2 separate regions of the Homo sapiens genome follow, and region 1 is linked to region 2. The links are contacts of gene promoters, found by promoter capture Hi-C in human tissues and cell types (Jung and others, 2019). All regions are on one chromosome and are shown on one strand. The core of a region is centred on a gene start or on the middle of the fragment in contact, and the rest is flanking DNA. Distances in the headings are between cores, read along the strand shown. Region 1 overlaps TMC7 (transmembrane channel like 7). Region 2 holds the start of ARL6IP1 (ARL6 interacting reticulophagy regulator 1).

Region 1 (5,521 bases), core at 1,148-3,647, 210 kb after region 2:
CCCACTCCACCCTCTGAGGCAAGGTTTTCAAATTATTATTATTATTTTATTTATTTATTTTTAGACGGAGTTTCGCTCTTGTTGCCCGGGCTGGAGTGCAATGGTGCGATCTCGGCTCACCACAACCTCTGCCTCCCGGGTTCAAGCGATTCTCCTGCCTCAGCCTCCCTAGTAGCTGGGATTACAGGTATGCACCACCACACCTGGCTAATTTTGTATTTTAGTAGAGACAGGGTTTCTCCATGTTGGTCAGGCTGGTCTCAAACTCCCGACCTCAGGTGATCCGCCTGCCTCGGCCTCCCAAAGTCCTGGGATTACAGGCATGAGCCACCGTGCCTGGCCTATTTTATTTATTTTTTTTGAGACGGAATCTCACTCTGTCACCCAGGCTGGAATGCAGTGGTGCCATCTCGCCTCACTGCAACCTCTGCCTCGCGGGTTTCAGCGACTGTCCCACTTCAGCCTCCTGAGTAGCTAGGATTACAGGCACCTGCCACCATGCCTGGCTAATTTTTTTTATTTTTGGTAGAGACGGGGTTTCACCATGTTGGTTAGGCTCGTCTGGAATTCCTAGCCTCAGGTGATCCATCTGCCTTGGCCTCCCAAAGTGCTGGGATTACAAGCATGAGCCACTGCGCCCGGCCGAGGGAGGGTTTTTTTAACCTTAGCACTCTTGCTTTTTTTTTTTTTTTTTTTTGAGATGGGGTCTCGCTCTATTGCCCAGGCTGGAGTGCACTGGCACCATCTTGGGTCACTGCAAGCTCTGCCTCCCAGGTTCACGCCATTCTTCTGCCTCAGCCTCCCAAGTAGCTGGGACTACAGGTGCCCGCCACCGCACCCAGCTAATTTTTTTGTATTTTTTATTTTGTTTTTAGTAGAGATGGGGTTTCACCGTGTTAGCCAGGATGGTCTTGATCTTCTGACCTTGTGATCTGCCTGCCTCGGCCTCCCAAAGTGCTGGGATTACAGGCGTGAGCCACCACACCTGGCCGCACTCTTGCTTATCGAGATTTGGGGCCAGATAGTTCTCTGTTGTGGAGGGCTGTCTGTGGATTGGAGGATGTTTAGCAACATCCCTGGCCTCTACCCACTAGATGCCAGAAGCATGTCCCCCTCCCCCAAGTTGTGACAATCAAAGATGTCCCCAGACCATTGCCTGATGTTCCTTGGGGGGTATGCAAAATCGCCCCCACTTGAGAACCACTGATCTAAGGGTAGGTACTTTACTAACTCCAAGTTACAGATAAGGAACCCAATGCACAGCACTGCGAGGCTCGTTTGGATGGAAGGTTCAAGTCCTTTTCTTTAATAGGAGCTCCCTGTCTGATGGAGGACAGACTGGTGGGAGGGTGGAGGCGTGTGCCGTGTGCCATATGCCATGGATGGCTGGCAAATTCCTCATGTTTCCTCTCTCGCCTTCAGGCCCCAGCACCTTCTCTTTCCCCTGCTCTCCTTACTCCCTGCTCCAACACCAACTTGGACTTGGGGCGCCTCCTCCAGGTTTCCAGAGCTCTGACCACATCCCCTTTTGTAGCACTTCCCCCAGGGAGCTGTCGTTGTTGGACGTCAGCCTGTTTGCCTTCCCTCCAGACTCAGGATCAGCTTTGTGGGCCGTGTAGTCTCTGTTGCAACTACTTAATTCTCCTGTTGCAGATGGTTCATAAATGAATTGGCATGGCTGTGTTCTAGGAATATTTATGGACACTGAAATTCGAATTTCATGTGATTTTCATGTGTCACAAAATATTATTTTTCTTTTGGCTTTTATTTTTATTATTTTTATTTAATTGTTTTTTTGTTTTTTTTTGATATGGAGTCTCGCTCTGTCACCCAGGCTGGAGTGCAATGGCAACATCTCGGCCCACTGCAACCTCCGCCTTCCGGGTTCAAGCGATTCTCCTGCCTCAGCCTCCCTAGTAGCTGGGATTACAGGTGCCTGCCACCATGCCCACCTAATTTTGGTATTTTCAGTAGAGACGGGGTTTCGCCATGTTGGTCAGGCTGGTCTTGAACTCCTGGCTTCATGTGATCTGCCTGCCTTGGCCTCCCAAAGTGATGGGATTACAAGTGTGAGCCACTGTGCCTGGCCTCCTTGTTTTTTTTTTTGTGACAGGGCCTTGCTCTGTCTCCCAGGATGGAGTGCAGTGGTGAGATCTCAGCTCACTGCAGCCTGATCCCCCAGGCTCAAGCAATCCTCCTGCCTCAGCCTCCCAAAGTTCAGAGATTACAGGCATGAGCCACTGTGCCTGGCCCGTCATTCCTTTCTGAGGTTGAATAATATCCTATTGTGTGGATAGACCACATTTAAAAAAATCCACTTATCTGTCAGTGGACATTTGGATTGTTTCTACCTTTTGATTATTAGCAACAATGCTGCTACGAACACTCAAGACAAGTTTTTTTTTTTTTTTTTGAGACCGAGTTTCACTCTTGTTGCCCAGACTGGCCAACATAGTGCAGTGGCATGATCTCGGCTCACTGCAAACTCCGCCTCCCGGGTTCAAGAAATTCTTCTGCCTCGGCCTCCCAAGTAGCTGGAATTACAGACGCCCACCACCATGCCTGGCTAATTTGTATTTTTAGTAGAGATGGAGTTTCACTATGTTGGCCAGGCTGGTCTCGAATTCCTGACCTCAGGTGATCCACCTGCCTCAGCCTCCCAAAGTGCTTGGATTACAGGCATGAGCCACCACGCCCAGCCTCATGACAAGTTTTTGTTTGAGAGCCCTGTTTTCAATTCTTTGTATGTACCTAGGAGTGGAACTACATGGCACATGGTTATTCTGTTTGACATTTTGACGGACTGCCAAACTTTTTTCCATAGCGGCGGCATTTTATATTCCTTGCAGCAATGTATGAGAGCTCACATATTTCTCTGTCCTTTCAGCTGGGATTTTATGAGATGCTGAGTCTTTCTTTTCTTTTCTTTCTTTTTTTTTGAGATGAAGTTTCACTCTTGTTGCCCAGGCTGGAGTGCAATGGCACCATCTCGGCTCACCGCAACCTCCGCCTCCCAGAGGTTCTTCTGCCTCAGCCTCGTGGAGTAGCTGGGATTACAGGCGCCCGCCACCACACCTGGCTAATTTTGTATTTTTAGTAGAGATGGTGTTTCACCATGTTGGCCAGGCTGGTCTTGAACTCCTGACCTCAGGTGATCCACCTGCCTCGGCCTCCCAGAGTGCTGGGATTACAGGCGTGAGCTACTGTGCCAGGCTGGGATGCTGAGTCTTGATGCTGCTGTTGTTGTCATTGTCATGATCATGTTTTCCATGCAGGGACATTCAAGAGACACAAATGAAGTATCTCTCCGAATGGGACCAGTGGAAGCGGTATAGCAGCAAGTCTTGGAAGAGGTTCCTAGAGAAGGCTCGAGAGATGACGACCCACCTGGAGCTGTGGCGGGAGGACATCCGCAGCATAGAAGGTATGCTGTCCTCACCTCTCTGCAGGCTCCTCCGCAGAAGTCTGTGTCTGGGGAGCAAGTACAGCTTCGTTTCCACTAGGGTCTAGCTGAAATTGAGCATTTCTTTCCATGATGAATGTGAGCAACAAACCACAGCAAGGTTTAGCAGAACCTGTGACTTTGTCACCAGGAAAAATCGTGGATATTTTCCTGTCCCTTCCAGTTGTTGTATTTATCTTGGAATACCGTTAATACCCATGAATACTTGGAAATTTCAGTCATTATTAGACTTCCCACTAGATCTTGTTATTTAATGTGCTAGTGAAGACCAGGCGCAGTGGCTCACTCCTGTAATCCCAGCAATTTGGGAGGCCAAGGTGGGTGAATCATGAGTTCAGGAGTTTGAGACCAGCCTGGACAACATGGTGAAATCCCGTCTCTACTAAAACTACAAAAAATTAGCTGGGCATGGTAGTGCATGCCTGTAATCCCAGCTATTTGGGAGGCTGAGGCATGAGAATCACTTGAACCTGGGAGGTGGACGTTGCAGTGAGCTGAGACCGCACTATTGCACTCCAGCCTGGGTAACAGAGTGAGACTCTGTCTCAAAAGAAGTGCCAGTAAAGGTGCTCATGATGCTCACATAGGTTATTCTATCACACATATTTTTAAAATAATATGATAACTGTATATCTTTTTATCTTATGCATTTAAATGAAATGCATGAATAGTATTATTTAAAAATAATATTAAATTATTTAATAATTTAATTTAAATTAAATGCATAAAATAGTATTATTTAAAAATAATATTAAATTATAATATTTTAATATTAGTAAACTATTATTTCATGCATTAAAATATTATGCATAAATATATTATTTTAAAATGTTATACTTTTAATTTCAATGCATAAAATAAAAACAGACATACAGTTATCATATTATTAAAAACATTATCCCAGCCAGGTGGTGGTTCATGCCTGTAATCCTAGCATTTTGGGAGACTGAGGCAGGAAGAGCATCTGAGCCCAGGAGTTTGAGACCAGCCTGGGTAACAAAGTTTAAGACCTTGCCTCTTCAAAAAACAGTTTTTTTTTTTTTTTTTTTTGAGACTGAATCTTGCTCTATCACCCAGGCTGGAGTGCAGTGGTGCAATCTCGGCTCACTGCAGGCTCCGCCCCCCGGGGTTCACGCCAGTCTCCTGCCTCAGCCTCCCGAGTAGCTGGGACTACAGGTGCCCGCCACCTCGCCTGGCTAATTTTTTGTATTTTTAGTAGAGACGGGGTTTCACCGTGTTAGCCAGGATGGTCTTGATCTCCTGACCTCGTCATCCGCCCTTCTCGGCCTCCCAAAGTGCTGGGATTACAGGCGTGAGCCACCACGCCTGGCTCCAAAAAAAGCTTTAAAAATTAGCTGGATGTGGTGCTATATGCCCATAGTCCCAGCTTCTGGGGAAGCTTAGGCAGGAGGATCACCTGAGCCCAGGAGTTTGAGGCTGCAGTAAGCTATGATTGTGCTATTGCACTCCAGCCTGGGTAACAGAGCCAGACCCTGTCTCAAAACAAAAACATAAATAAACAAACAGAAAGCCTTATTATCCTGAGTCGAGGTTCATCACTTTTACCAAACTGCAAAGAGTTCCTGTGGCCCTGAAAATACTGTGAACCCCTACTTTCCTATAATGGTGAGAATTTGGGATTAAAATATTGTTATTAGTTGGCTTGGGCTGCCATAACAAAATACCGCAGACTGGATGGCTTAAAAAACAGAAACTTTTTTTTCTCATAGTTTTGGAGGCTCGAACAGGCCTTCTTGCTGTGTTCACGTAACCTTTGCTTTGAGTGTGCTCTGAGAAAGAGTGCAAACTCTCTGGTGTCTCTTTTTATAAGGACACTAATCCCATCATGGGACACCACTCTCAAGACCTCATTGAAACCTAATCACCTCCCAAAGGCTCATCTCCAAATACCATGACACTGGGTGTTAGGGCTTCACCATACGAATTTGAGGGTGGGGACACAATTCAGTCCATAGCAAGTATGCAAAAATGGGAAGTTGTGCCAAAATACAAAATTAGCCAGGCACAGTGGCTCATGCCCCCATCCTAGTGCTTTGG
Region 2 (5,568 bases), core at 2,226-4,725:
AACATAGTCATTATTATTCCTAACTAAACATGTCTAACTTAACTATTCACTTAACTATTCACCGCCTCTCAGAGATATTTGCCATTTTTCTTCTAATTTTCTCACAAGTGGCTTTCCAGAGGCTTTGTGACATGCTGATATCATAGCTGCAGTGGTTAAGTATATATCAATGGACAAAAGCTCTTTGGAGTTCTCAGCACTTTTTTAAGAGTTTAGGGAGGTGGGGGACTAGGGGAGGGATAGCATTAGGAGAAATACCTAATGTAGATGAAGGGTTGATGGGTGCAGCAAACCACCATGGCACATGTATATATACCTATGTAACAAACCTGTACATTCTACACATGTTTCCCAGAACTTAAAGTATAATAACAAAAAAAGAGTTTAAGTGTCTGGAGGACAAAAAGTTTGCGAGTCACTGATTTACTCAAGTGCTTTAGGTTACCAAGTTTACAGAAGTACTACAAATTCTGGAAACTAGAAGTGCTTATGAGAAACATTCTTTATGGGTTCTTTATGGGTTATATATTACAGAAGACTTAAGGCACTCCCACAAACAGAAGCTATATATTAAAAAGTCTTTATTAATAAGAAGCACAACCCATAGTAATCTAATAGCTCACTTACAGAAACACCAAAGAAACCACACCCATGATGGCAGGTGGAAACCAGGCTCTTTCCCATCGGAGGACTTTATCAGCCATCAGCATCACTTCTCCCCATCCTTGCAGCTGTTCTTCCAGACTTGCAGTCTCTGCAGCCTAAATACCACCGACATTTAAAGTGATCATTTTACCACTCTCAACATTTTTGTGGTTCATAGACTTCAATTATTTTAAAGCTCCAAATACAAAAAATAACCTCTTAACCAAATTGCCAATTTTAAACTAGTTGGTTTCTGAAAAACTGCAATTTCAAAGATGAAAATACAATGGGTTTTTTTGTTTTTTGTGTTTTTTTTTTTGAGACGGAGTCTCGCTCTGTCACCCAGGCTGGAGTGCAGTGGGGAGATCTCGGCTCACTGCAGCCTCCGCCTCCTGGGTTCAAGCGATTCTCCTACCTCATACTCCTGAGTAGTTGGGACTATAGGCGCCCGCCACCACGCCCGACTAATTTTTTGTAGAGACAGGGTTTCACCATGTTGGCCAGGCTGGTCTCAAACTCTGGACCTCAAGTGATCCACTCACCTCGTCTTCCCAAAGTGCTGGGATTACAGGTGTGAGCCACCAGGCCCAGCCTAAATATCCTTTAATGGTCACTTTTCTAGTCCAAGCACTGGGCTATTCTTTATATACATGATGTAACTTAATCCTTACAGAGAGCCACAAGGTAGGGATAATTAGACTCAATTTACAATTAAAGAAAGTGAGCTCAAAATGGTTTACTTTCTCAAAGTCATGCGGGGAATCGTGGCAGTGCCCAGAGTATTAATAAAATGAAATAACTTTTTTTAAGTTTGTTTATTTCAGATGGTTAGAATTGATCCGTTGTTTTTGTCATCTTATTGATTTAAACCCTTCTAAATCCATTAGGAAAGACTTTCCCTGAATAGCATTCAATTTCTAAAATAGCTCTTTGTGTAATGGAATCACTCAGATGTTGACATTCATTGGACAATTAAGGAAAACTACTTTCACCAAATTAAGGTGGCATTTTACGGTCAATATACCTCCTCAATACAGTGTTTCTTACCACTCAGGATGTCATTTTGATTATACTTCAAATTTCTCTGACTCTGAACAGCCGAAAGTGGGCCTCTAGGATGAGCTAATGTGGCAAAAGCCCTTAAAGCTGGTTTTGGTAAAGGAAGAAAAATTTAGAATAAGAAACTCAAGTGTCTCTATGTTATCAGGCTGGATGCAGTGGATCACGCCTGTAAACCCAGCACTTGGCGGGTCGGGGGGGATTGCTTGAGCCCAGGAGATCGGGACCAGCCTGGGCTGAGACCTTGTCTCTTTGTAAAAGTCATTCACTGGAAATCATGCAAATGACAGAACAAGGCACTTAATCTTAACAAAGACGCTCGCTATCTGTGCCACGCTGAGCACTAGTGTGATCTCAATATTTCTGACTTTATATTCCATGCTTAATACTAGTGAAAGAGACTACTATGTGTGGGCACTCTGCTGAGCATTCATATTTATACTTCAATTAATCTTCCTAACAACCCTTAAAAAAAGGTGTTATTACTGTCCCCATTTTACCAAGGAGGAAACAGATACAGAGGTTAACTGATCTGCATCCAAGAAATCCACGACCAAAGGCGTTGCTTTCCTTAGAGTTATATTGCTCTGCTGGAAGGAGAGTTGGGAAGCAGGAGCTCTAGCCCAGGATTTGTCATTTCAACAGGGCTTGAGCTACTTCTCTGTGCTTCAATTAATCCTCTTAAAAAGATCCACGCTGAGAACTAACTATGCTAGAAGGAGCGTGTGTTTAAAGGAACAAACCATGCATTTCTAAAAGCAAATATAAAATCACGCACAATCAAAACTGCCCTGAAGTCACGTCATTGGCCAGCGTCTGGGGTCTTGGAAGTTCAAAAGCCCCTAAGTAAATTCTTTGGTTCCGTTTTTCATTGCTGGTATGTGACCTACAGTCACCAGGGAAGGGCAACTGAGAATATGCAAGGATATTTCTCTTGTTTTTTGCCCACAAGGTGCGCTTAAATTCATAACAAATAAAAATGTGTCCGCCTATGATACCATCTCACTGCAGTTCCTTCGGATCCCTGCTTATTACTCTAAAGCTGTTTCCAGTAGTCCTGTGACCCCACCCCCGCCAGACTTCCAAATTCCAGACAAACGCCAAGACATCCCATTGTCTGTTCAGCTGGACCCCGCTCCCGGTTCCCCACGGTGAGCTCGCAGCCTCCCTGTCGTTTTAAGTTGTACCAGCTCTAAGATAAATTCTGGGCAGTAGCCCTTTGACCCTCCACCCTTGTCCAAGTTTTAGGGGGAAAAGAAGGCAGGCACATCCAGGTTAAGATCAAAGACGGGGAAAGCCGAATACGGCTGGGGCCTGAGCCGCGAAAGCGCTGGACAGGCCCCAGGAGGCCTTCTGCCCCCACCCGCACCCCAGGCTAGTGTCGCAGCCCCTCTGCCTCCCACTTCCTCCTCGACTCCTACTCGCGGTGATGAATCACGCGCCCTCCTCGCCCCGTCGCGCACCGTCCCCAGGAAAGGTAAGGGTTCGACACCCAGGAGTCACCCAAGAAGCCCGAGGGCCAGGCATCGTCGCCTGCCCAGGGAGAGAAGGGCCGGGCCCGCGGCGGGTGACAGGGACGAGGCCGCGGTGTTTGAGCCCACGGACGTCTGGAGGCCTCGCTCGGCTCCCGGGGGACAGGCAGCCAGGACTCACCAGCAGGTTGGTGCTGCGATTATCTCCCTCCGCCATCGTCTCGGGGATGCAGTCTCTACAAGCGCAGGCCACCTCCCCAACGAGTCCTCCAACCGAAACCCGCACACCAACCACAACCCGAGGGAACGCCCCGCAGGCTGCTTATATGGGTCGGCCGCCCTTCCCGACGGCCCCCGCGACGCTCGCTCCTCATTGGACAGACCGAGCTTACGCCTCAAGGAAGCCGGGCCAACCGAAGCTCAGCGCATGGCTTGAAATCGAGGTCAAAGGAGACAGAGGCAGCGCCGGGCCGAGGGGGAGGGGACACGGAGTGCCCAATCAGCGCCCAGGGACTGCGCGACGCCCCGCCCAGCGCTGTGGGAAGCGGTTCAACCGCCTCTGCAGGGGGCGCTGTCCCTCAGTGGTTCTCCGGCTCTTGCCGCTGCGGTGGCTTTGGGTCCCTCTTCGTCTGGCTTTCGCAGCCGAGGAGACTCTCTGGAAAATGGGCTACTCGAAGAGAGATGCTCCGTTGCCTCAGGCGGAGGGCGGGGACGCCGGGCCTGCGACACTTCATCTTTTCCTGGCCCCGAGGTGGCTGGGATCCGTTCCACCTTCGGCCCAGTTCCCCAGCCAGGCCCCTGAGCCGTTTAGCCCGGATTTGCGACCCGTGAGGTTTTGAGGACAAGTGAAAAGAGCTCTTTGTGTGGATTTTGCTGCAATGTTTCTCTCCTACCCAGTAGGAATGAGGCCTTAGCTTGCGCGGAAAAACCCAGGCCTGGTTTGAGAACGTGTGAAAATGCACCGCCTTCTAAGTGGCTTTATTATACGTGGATGTTTAAGTTACTTAAACTACAAGCTCCCTCTCCAAAAGGATTCTTTTTTTTTTTTTCTTTTTTTTTGAGACGGAGTCTCGCTATGTTGCCCAGCCTGGAGTGCAGTGGCGCGATCTTGCTCACTGCAAGCTCTGCCTCCCGGGTTCACGCCATTGTCCTGCCTCAGCCTTCCAAGTAGCTGGGACTACAGGCGTCCGCCAACACGCCTGGCTAATTTTTTGTATTTTTAGTAGAGACGTAGTTTCACCGTGTTAGGATGGTCTCGATCTCCTGACCTCGTGATCCGCCCGCCTCGGCCTCCCAAAGTGCTAGGATTACAGGCGTGAGCCACCGCGCCCGGCCAGAATTGTTTGTTTGTTTGTTTGAGACGAAGGAGTCTCGCGCTCCGTGGCCCCGGCTGAAGTGCAGTGGCGCGATCTCTGCTCACTGTAACCTCCATCTCCCGGGTTCAAGTGATCCTGGCGCGTCAGCCTCCCGAGTAGCTGGAATTACAGACGCCCGTCACTACGCCCGGCTAATTTTTGTATTTTAATAGAGACGGGGTTTCGCTATTTTGGCCAGGGTGGTCTGGACCTCCTGACCTCAAGATATCCGCCCGCCTTAGCCTGCCAAAGTGCTGGGATTACAGGCGTGAGCTACCGCGCCCGGCCAAAAGGATAGTTCTTGACACGACCTTTCTTCCATTAGAGGTCAAGCTAAGAAAATATGTAAACCCTCTCACAAGCAGTAGAATTCCTAGGCAGTTTAGGAACTGTGTTGAGGCACTTGTACATCTTTTCTATCCAGGATTTCAAATGCAGTAACAAGTGCTTTGATCTTTTTTTTTTTTTTTTTTTTTTTTTTTTCTTTTTTTCTTGAGACACAGCCTGGCTCTGTTGCCCAGGCTGTAGTGCAGTAGCCACCGCGCCCGGCCGATTTTTCATCGTTTGATACAAACAGAATCATGCCAAATGTCCGGATCAGATGTTTGTTTCAGGTGAATTAACTATAGTTTTAACTTCCAACCTTTTATCTTTTTTACAGGTTTTAACTTCCAATCTCATGGTCATTTGTATTCGGCCATTGAATTTAAATTTATTTTTAAAATGTTCCTTAAGTAACCACCAGGTTCTTAAATGTTCAAGGAAGTCATAAATGTGAGAGAACATAGCTGCAGACCACATACTGCCCCTAAGAGAGCTGGGCAAGGGCAGGAGCATTGTGAATTTCATGGAAGGGTGTCAATTTGCTGTGGGTCTTTCGGGGAAAGGGGAGTGAAGTATCTGAATCAGGGAGAAGCACTTGAAAAAAAGTCTTTGCAAGGGAAGCTGACTGTTCAATAAAGTGCCACTTTGGAGAATGTTGGGGTAAAGAAGTTGTAAAGGCAGGATACAGCCAGTTGACAGAGACGCTATTTGGA

What was found. The method cuts DNA at HindIII sites, captures the fragments that hold promoters and counts their contacts. A contact is called where the count stands out against the background at its distance.
Region 1: a fragment that was not itself captured here is called in contact with the fragment with the promoter of ARL6IP1 in region 2 in 1 of the 25 tissues and cell types used here (lymphoblastoid cells).

Annotation. Positions count from the first base shown.
Region 1 is chr16:19,013,175-19,018,695 of GRCh38, forward strand. It overlaps TMC7 (transmembrane channel like 7), which reads left to right. Exons shown (of 16, transcript NM_024847.4): 3 at 3,276-3,424. Among named protein-coding and RNA genes, the nearest start is that of TMC7, 32 kb to the left of the region's middle. The HindIII fragment of the contact is 4,872 bases long and covers 1-4,833 here.
Region 2 is chr16:18,798,074-18,803,641 of GRCh38, forward strand. ARL6IP1 (ARL6 interacting reticulophagy regulator 1) reads right to left here and starts at 3,476. Exons shown (of 6, transcript NM_015161.3): 1 at 3,358-3,476; 2 at 628-761. The coding sequence starts at 3,393. RefSeq lists enhancers at 2,980-3,099, 3,320-3,399, 3,780-4,019. The HindIII fragment of the contact is 10,319 bases long and covers 1-5,568 here.